Linked DNA regions of Homo sapiens: all the other regions are linked to region 2. The links are contacts of gene promoters, found by promoter capture Hi-C in blood cells and fetal thymus (Javierre and others, 2016). All regions are on one chromosome and are shown on one strand. The core of a region is centred on a gene start or on the middle of the fragment in contact, and the rest is flanking DNA. Distances in the headings are between cores, read along the strand shown.

The links. The method cuts DNA at HindIII sites, captures the fragments that hold promoters and counts their contacts. A CHiCAGO score of 5 or more calls a contact.
Region 1: a fragment that was not itself captured here is called in contact with the fragment with the promoter of KCTD21 in region 2 in 15 of 17 cell types (activated CD4 T cells, fetal thymus, non-activated CD4 T cells and 12 more); the score reaches 10.5 in activated CD4 T cells.
Region 3: a fragment that was not itself captured here is called in contact with the fragment with the promoter of KCTD21 in region 2 in 7 of 17 cell types (non-activated CD4 T cells, naive CD4 T cells, activated CD4 T cells and 4 more); the score reaches 7.6 in non-activated CD4 T cells.

The regions. Positions count from the first base shown.
Region 1 is chr11:78,348,045-78,350,811 of GRCh38, forward strand. All of the region lies in intron 1 of GAB2 (GRB2 associated binding protein 2), which reads right to left. Among named protein-coding and RNA genes, the nearest start is that of GAB2, 68 kb to the right of the region's middle. The HindIII fragment of the contact is 3,231 bases long and covers 1-2,767 here.
Region 2 is chr11:78,187,187-78,189,886 of GRCh38, forward strand. It overlaps KCTD21 (potassium channel tetramerization domain containing 21), which reads right to left and starts at 1,440. Exons shown (of 2, transcript NM_001029859.3): 1 at 1,387-1,440. It overlaps USP35 (ubiquitin specific peptidase 35), which reads left to right and starts at 1,733. Exons shown (of 11, transcript NM_020798.4): 1 at 1,733-1,971. RefSeq lists silencers at 1,157-1,496, 1,927-2,086. The HindIII fragment of the contact is 4,363 bases long and covers 1-2,469 here.
Region 3 is chr11:78,330,682-78,333,437 of GRCh38, forward strand. All of the region lies in intron 1 of GAB2 (GRB2 associated binding protein 2), which reads right to left. Among named protein-coding and RNA genes, the nearest start is that of GAB2, 86 kb to the right of the region's middle. RefSeq lists an enhancer at 1,842-1,891. The HindIII fragment of the contact is 715 bases long and covers 990-1,704 here.

The DNA of each region.
Region 1 (2,767 bases), core at 100-2,599, 160 kb after region 2:
AGTATTGATTAAGTGGAAGTGGATCATCATAAAGGTCTTTATCTTCATCTTGACATTGAGTAGGCTGAGGAGAAAGAGGAAAAGAAGAGGTTAGACTTGCTGTCTCAGCAGTGACAGAAGCAGAAGAGGTAGAAGGGGAGGAAGGGGAGGCAGGAGAGGCAAGCACACTCAGTGTCACTTTTACTGAAAAGAATCCAAGTATAAATGGACCCATGCAGTTCAAGCCCATTTTGTTCAAGGATCAGTTGTATTCACATGTTTTCACAGATTGAAGGAAATGTTTAATATATTTCTATCTTACAAAGAACTGGTATCCAGATCATAAAAGGAACTTGTACAACTCAGTAAGAAGATAAATGACACAATTTTTTAAATGGGCAAAAGATTTGAACAGATACTAGACAAAAGAAGATAGTATACAAAATGCCAGTTGGCACATGGTGCTCAACATCACTAGACATCAGGGAAACAAATGAAAACCACAATGAATACCATGACCTATAAACCCATTAGAATGACTAAAATTAAAAAGGCTGATCACACTAAGTGCTTCTGAGATTGTAAAGCAACTGGAAATCACATACACTGTTGATAGGAAAGTAAAACAATACAGTTTGGAAGTTTCTCAAAAAGTTTAACACGTATCTACCATATGACTGAGCCATTCAACTGCTGGGTATACCTGGGAGAAATGAAAATGTATGCTCCACAGAAAGATTTCCAAGTGAATGTTCATATCAGCTTTATTTAAAAGAGCCAGAAACAAGAAAGAACCCAATGTCCATCAATAGGTGGTATATCCACACAATGGAATACTACTCAGCAATAACATGGATACATGCAACAACATGGACACATCCAGAAATCACTATGCTGAGTGAAATAAGCTGCACAAAAAGTGTACATACTGTACTCCTATAAAATGCAAACTAATTTAGAGTGACAAAGAACAGAGGAGTGCTTGCCTGGGGCTAAGGGCAAAGGAAGGGAAAGACTGCAAAGGGGCAAGAGGAATCTTTTGGGGATGATGCCAATGTTCTACATCTTCAATGTAGTACTTGTTTCATGAGTACGGACAGACACCTATGAGACTCATTAAATGTACACAGATATAGTTCACTGTGTGTAAATTATCCTTTGAAGTTGATAAGGAAAAAAGTAATTTCCTTTGCCACTCCTGCTGCCACTGGAAACAAGTTAGCAAGCTACTACCTCCCATATCTCACGATCACTGGGAAAACAGGAAGCTGTATAGAAGTTGGTGAGAAAATGAGTGGTATTGCAAAAAACATTTGATTATTAATGAGGTGTCTGGTACTAAGTTACAAATCATCTTACTTAATTCTAACACTTTTGATGAGGTAGGCACTATTATCTCTATTACAGATGAGACAACAGGCTCAGAAAGTTTAAAGAACTCATTGAAAGTCACCCCGATGGTAAATGGTAGATTTGGATTCAACAATGTATGCTGGCATCAGACCAGATAAACTTACCTTCGAATGCTATTATTCCCTACAGTGCTTAGGGCATCCTCAGAAAGGAAAAGCCCTGATAGCCTAGGGACAAGAAGAGCTGCTAGAGATTTCCTTCATCAGGACTGAGAAATCCTCTCAAGTCAGGGAGTTTTTTTTCTTTTAAAAAATTTTTTTTAAGTCGGTGAGTTTTAGCAGCCTTTTTCAAAGCAGCTTGGGAGAGTGGGAGGTGGGGTACACCTCTGCTTCTGGAGCAGAGGAGAATCCTCTCACTTGGCTCCAGCATTTGCTGGTATTTTGTTAACTTTTGGCTCCTCCATGTTCACCCACCCACTGGTTTCCCAGAGTAAAAATGCCAAAATATCTTGGCTGAACAGGCGAATGGATCACAGATGACAGAGGTAAAAAAAAGAAAAAAAGAAAAAAAAAAGAAAGACAATCAAGAGGTTCTGTAATATGCTTCTTTTTAAAGGTAAAAGCAAATTGCACACGTCCTCATTCTTATTCTCTTTGAGTTGGCTGTCTTGTGAAACATTCTGTTGTCTATATTTTCATTCATCACATTGAAAAAAAAGTTAGGCAAATGGGTCATGCTGAAAGTTTAAGTAAATTTACCGTCTTCCTATTTCAGACCAGCTGTAGTCCATCTCCCCTGAAGCCTGGCCAACAGATCAAGGAGAACATGGCTTGAGCTGCAAAAACAGACCAGAGAGAGAAACCCTGGGAAACTAGGCTCTAGCGGGTAGCTCAGGAGGGGAACCCACACTGCAGAGGAAAAGTAAAGAGGCCTGGGTGCCGGGATTAACTCTAATCATCCGTGAGACTCTGGCAAGACATGCTCTCCCTCAGAACCTCCAAAGACTGGAGTGATCAGGTTTTTCAACTTTTAACAAAGGCCCAGCGTTTCTAACCAAATATAATCTCCCTAAACCCTCAGTTTCTCATGCACTTCCTCTTTGAGGATTGCTCTGCTGCCTGTTTATTCCTCAGAAACCAAGTTTCACTTTCTGAAATCTGTTATAAAGCCAGGCGACTTTTCATTGTTACACTATAAATTATGATACCAAATAAAAACTTCTAAAAAGTATATACAAGGATAATCTGAAATTCAGCCATAAGCCTGAGTGTGTGTCATTGAGAGTTAGGAACTAAATGCTCTAAAACAAACTGTGATGTTTTCTGGTTGTTCCTCATTTCCATTCCTGACTTAGCCTGAACTGCAATTTTACTAAAGCTCCTTTGCTTCCCCTTCACACACGTTAAGAATTCACCACAGGAACATGTGCTTTTGT
Region 2 (2,700 bases), core at 190-2,689:
GTGGGAGACTTCCCCACCTTACCCCACCGGAGAAAGGACTCTTTGCCTTGAAGCCCCTAGGACGACTACCCTTTCTTCACCTCCTCTTCCTGACCACCCCACATCAAAGAGCTGCGTCTATAATTCTGTCTTGCCCAGTCCATATCTCTAAGAAATCCGAAGGCTGCTCTATTACCATCACAACCCATAGGGAGGAGAGAAAAGGTGCTTCCTAGACACAGGGACCCCAGAATGAGCTGCGCAAAAGGCAGGAGGAGAGAAAGGTGGGCTGGAAGAAGGAGACCACGGAATCTGGCACGGCAAGGTATTCTTTCATCTGGCGTAGACCTCCAACAACCACTACCATCCCCCAGCCCCTTCCAGAACTTTCCTTCACCTTCTCGGCTCACTCTCACGCTTCACCTTGTGCTTTTCCTCCGGCACCAGCACCCCATTTCAAACCGCTCTCTTCCTATGTCTCCTCCAAACAGTAATTTATAAACACCGTGCTTTCAAATCCATCTCATTTCATCCTCACAGTACTATAGGAGGGCTGCCTTACAGGCTGTCATTCGGAAGGGTTGGGGGGACTGGTCCTGCCAGACAATTTGCGAAGGTCGGGGCATCAAAACTTTTCTTTCCTGCCTCCCACGCCAAGCTAAACCTCTGCCTCCCCGAGTGCAGGGAGAAAAGCAAGGTCTTTGAAGTAAGGAGTCCTGAGTGGTTTTAGGCAAGTCCCTTCGCTTTTCTGAGCCTCACATTCCTCACCTGTCAACCGCTATAGTGACGCCTCTACTTTTCAGGGCGTGGGAGGTCAATGAGATCACTGGTGTGCCGCACTGAACTCGGGGATGGACTCTTTATTTCCAGTCAGTAAAGGGAGGTGTTCTATGCATCACAGGCTTTTGCCCACGCCGCCACAGCGCGGCCGGCCCAGGGCTCTCCAGAGCGGGGCAAGTTCCCTGTCATCTGTGTCTCCGCCCTTCCTTCCCCAATCTCACCCAGGCTGGCCTCATCGGCTTGTTCCGCACCCACTCCCCAGCCCTACAGCCCCCACTCCGACCTGACAAGTGCCCCACCCCCACCTAGAGATCCCGCCTCTCCTTGCCCCACCCACCAAGGACTCCTCCCACAGTCCCGACCCTCATTATCCGGGCTTTTCCGACTATCACCATCCGCCCTTGCTCTCCCAACAGCCCCGCCCCTCTAAGAGCTCTGCCCACTTCGGCTCACCTCGCTCCGAAACGCGCCCCCTCCCCCGCACCACAGGCGATGCCATCCCCATTTCACAGATGGGAATGGCGAGGCTGGGATAGATTAGTCTCATGGTAAGACAGGTGCTCAGTGGGCCCACGTACCCTCGCCGGTAGTCCCCGAGCCCCGCGACCCCGGCCGTGCCGCACCCACCTCCTGCCCTCGCTCTGCAGCCTCTCCCTCCGCGAGCGGCCAGCGCAGCTTTGCGAGGGGGGCGGAGGGTAGGAGCCCAGCCCAGGGGCGTGGCGGTCCGGGGTCTGTGCGCTGCCTTCCGGGACTGGTAGTTCTCTCTGGGCTCCTCGCAGCTCGGCGCGTCGAGAGCGAACTCCATCTCCCAGGAGGCATTGCAGCGAGTTGCTCTGCGCCCCGCCTCGTCCCCGCCGGTGTCCGGCCGGCTGGCCTTAAAGGGGACGCGGTCAGAGTGGCAGCTCGCGGGGTGGCCCCCGCTCCGGCTCCGCCCCATTTCACGCACCTCGCCCCTCCCCATGCTTCATCCCGCAGCCCCGGGGCCGCGCCGCAGAGTCGGGCTTCCTGGATACATAGAGGCTTGTGCCAGGCGGGGTGGGAAGACTGGATTTTGCAGTGGAAGCAGCATCTCTTCCGTCTGGGACCTGGCTGAGGGCGTCCCCACCCTGGGGGGAGCAGAGGACCAGCCCTGACCTAGCCGGGCCCAGCCTCGTCCTGCCCGGCCTGAGCGCCCCGCCCAGCAGCCGGCTCTGGCCCACCGGGGTCCGGGAGGTAAGGGGGTTGGGGGCGTGTGACTGTCTTTGGGGGGCGGTGTCTGCACCCTGGCCTTTCGAGAACCCTGGACTTGCGAGCCCAGGGCTGGGAGTCGGGAGATCTGGGTGCATCCTGGGCCTCCTGGGCCTCACTGTGTGACCTTGGGCGAGTAGCTATTCCTCTCTGGGCATTAATCCCCTCCCTTCATCAATTGTATGTCGAAGTGATCCTGCTCCCTCCCCTTTCAGGTAAGAGGGCATTCGCACCCAGTACCTAGTACATTCGCTTGCTGGCTTTTCGTGGGGCCCTCCAGCTCAAGCGTGGGCTGGGCGCGGGTGCACTGGAGGGAGGGAGGTGGCACAAACTGGGGGGCCCGAGGCCACCATTGCTTGGAATGGGCTTTTCCTATTCTCAGTGTGCTGGGCCCTGGGATACCCTCCCCAACCCCCTCTTACGGCCCTGGCCCTTGCAAACCGGAGACCCTGATGTGTCAGCTTGGTGCCCTTCCTTCCAGAAAGCTTGGGGTGGAGTGCGGCCCTCACAGGTTTGTGAGGGGTGGCCCCGCAGGGATAGGTGTGTGTGGTGGGTTCCTGAGGAGGAATAGCTGCTCCTGCTTTCTTCCCTTCTCTCTCCTCCTTATCCTTTGAGGAAGAGCAGCTGCTTTTTACCAGTGAAACCCTTTTTTCTTTTTCTTTCCAGGAGACAGTTTGGTGGCCCAGACATGGGCCTCCCGGAGTAGGGTGAAGC
Region 3 (2,756 bases), core at 97-2,596, 140 kb after region 2:
TCATTTATATTGTCTCATTGTACATTTCCTCTTCCCACCCCCTCCTTTTTTGGTTAACATTTGGGTGCTTCCCATATGTTATTTTCTTAATGGAAATATTTTTCTTCCCATAACGTATTTTCTTAATGGAACTGTGGAACACCCTATGAAGTAGAAAGGTATTAGTTCTAGAATTTGCCTGAGATCTCACAGTTATTAATAGTAGAACCAGGCTAGGTGCAATGGCTCATGGCTGTAACCCCAGCACTTTGGGAGGCTGAGGTGGGCAGATCATTTGAGGTCAGGAGTTCGAGACCAGACTGGCCAACATGGTAAAACCCTGTCTCTTCTAAAAAATACAAAAATTACCAGGGCATGGTGGTGGGCACCTGTAATCCCAGCTACTCGGGAGGCTGAGGCGGGACAATTGCATGAACCCGGGAGGTGGAGGTTGCAGTCAGCCGAAATCGCGCCACTGCACTCCAGCCTGGGTGACAGAGACAGACACCGTCTCAAAAAATAAATAAAAATAAAATAAATAAATAGCAGGACCAGCACTCCAACTCTTTTGATCCAAATTCTCCATTCTTTTTTTTTTTTTTTTGAGATGGAGTCTCGCTCTGTTGCCAGGCTGGAGTGCAGTGGCACAATCTCGGCTCACTGCAATCTCTGCCTCCCAGGTTCAAGCGATTCCCCTGCCTCAGCCTCCCCAGTAGCTGGGACTACAGTTATGCACCACCACACCCAGCTAATTTTTTGTATTTTTAGTAGAGACGGGGTTTTACCATGTTGGCCAGGAGGGTCTCGATCTTCTGACCTCCTGATCTGCCTGCCTTGGCCTCCCAAAGTGCTGGGATTACAGGCGTGAGCCACTGCGCCCAGCCCCGAATCCTCCATTCTTAAGGGATAACAAATCCAGAATTTCAGTTCTCCAAAAGATATAATGTGTTTAAACACATTGTGCAAACATGAGGAGTTGCTATCCTTACCACAGAAAACCTCTTTCTCTAAGCTTGAAGTCCTCAGGATAAGAGGAATAGTGCCCACGCTGCTCTGGGCCTAGAAAGGGATTACAGAGGTCCCAGGCTGGCTCAGATCAGACCAAACTCACAATAGACCAAGGGGATTGGAAAACAGAGACACAGATGGAAAACCAGTGGCTGCCACCACAGCCTGGTCACTAAGGCAGCTCTTTATCTCCTATGCCATTGTTTATAGCCCAGAGGACACCATCCGGACCTCGTAAATGAAAGTGTCCATTGGGAAGGGGAAAAAAAACACACATGCCCCCTCCACACACAAAAGGGCATTTGTGTTGGGCAACCCAAGAGGCAGACACACACCAAGGGCTTGCCCCTCCTCCCTTTGCCTCTAGGAAAAGACAAGAAAGGCAGCTTTCTGGTACTCTACAAAGTGGGGAGCCTGTGGCGGGGAACAGAACAAACCCCCTCCAAAACTGCTGACTTGATTCATCCCCAAACTGACACAAGGCGGGAGGAAGACTTCAGGAAATGGGCAGATTATGTCCAAGAAAAGATTTCCTGCAAGCAGTTAATGGGAAACTTACATGAAAAGCAGGACTAAAAATACACAGGCTATTGGAAACCAGTGGTGAGGCCCCTGGTTTTTAAAGAAGTGACTGAGGAAGCCACCAGGCTTGGGACTTTCCCTGCCCACCAACCTAGGGAGATCAACTTAACACTGGCTTTATTTGCCTGGGGGAGAAGCTTATAGGGTACCTGGTATGATTTAAATTTCCTTTCAATATTGATCAAGTCCTCACTGTGTCTGAGCTTTCTATTCATATAAGCTATGATAGCACAAAAAGAAGGTAAAAGCCCCAGTGTCCTACACACATATCCTGACTCAAATGATGAGAGAAACGGATCAGTAGTACAAATGACATCCTATGTTTAAGTGAATTTTGGTTATCAAAAAATAAACCTCACAACTTAAGTAAGAGTCTAATGGGATGCAGCAAGAGGTAGCAATGGCATGCAGGAAATTTATCTGCACTTGAAGGCATATGTGAGTAATGACAAATCATAGCTCTGGCTTGAACAGTAGGGAAACTAAAAAGTAACATTTAGGAGACCAAAAAGTAACTATTAAGAAGTGTTGTTTATTGACTTTGAGAAAGAACCTTTCTAGGTGCTTAGAGGAAGAAGCAGGCACATGGAGTTCCCTCATGCCCTAGAGTCTGAGCAGAAATTTGAAGATATAGTTTTTGTTTTTTTAAGAACCTTCCCCTTTGCCTTGTCTTATACCTGCAGAGCCTAATTTTGCCAAATATTTATTGAGCCCCAACACTGGTGTATCCCCTATAGCAGATCAAGAATCTCTTATAATTTAATGGGAAAGATGGTCCTTCAAATGACAGAAGGAGGAGGATAATGCTGGGCTTTGTTTCAGAGCCTGCCTGGGACATGTGGTACCATCAGTATACTCTTGATCCAGTGCTTTACAGTCTTCACCCGGAAATACTGGGCTCCAATTACAAAGGAAAATCTTATCACTAACCATCTTCCAATAATACACATACTGATAAGTCCTTCTTCTAGGATTATAATGAATAATTTGAGTCCAAAGATCTTTTGGTGACTTTTTTTATTTTTTATTTTTAGAGAAAAAGTCTCGCTCTGTCACTCAGGCTGGAGGGCAGTGGTGCGATCATGGCTCACTCCAGCCTCGAATCCTGAGCTGAAGCAATCTTCCTGCCTTAGCATCCCGAGAGCTAGGACTACAGGAATGCACCACCATGCCCAGCTAATTTTTAA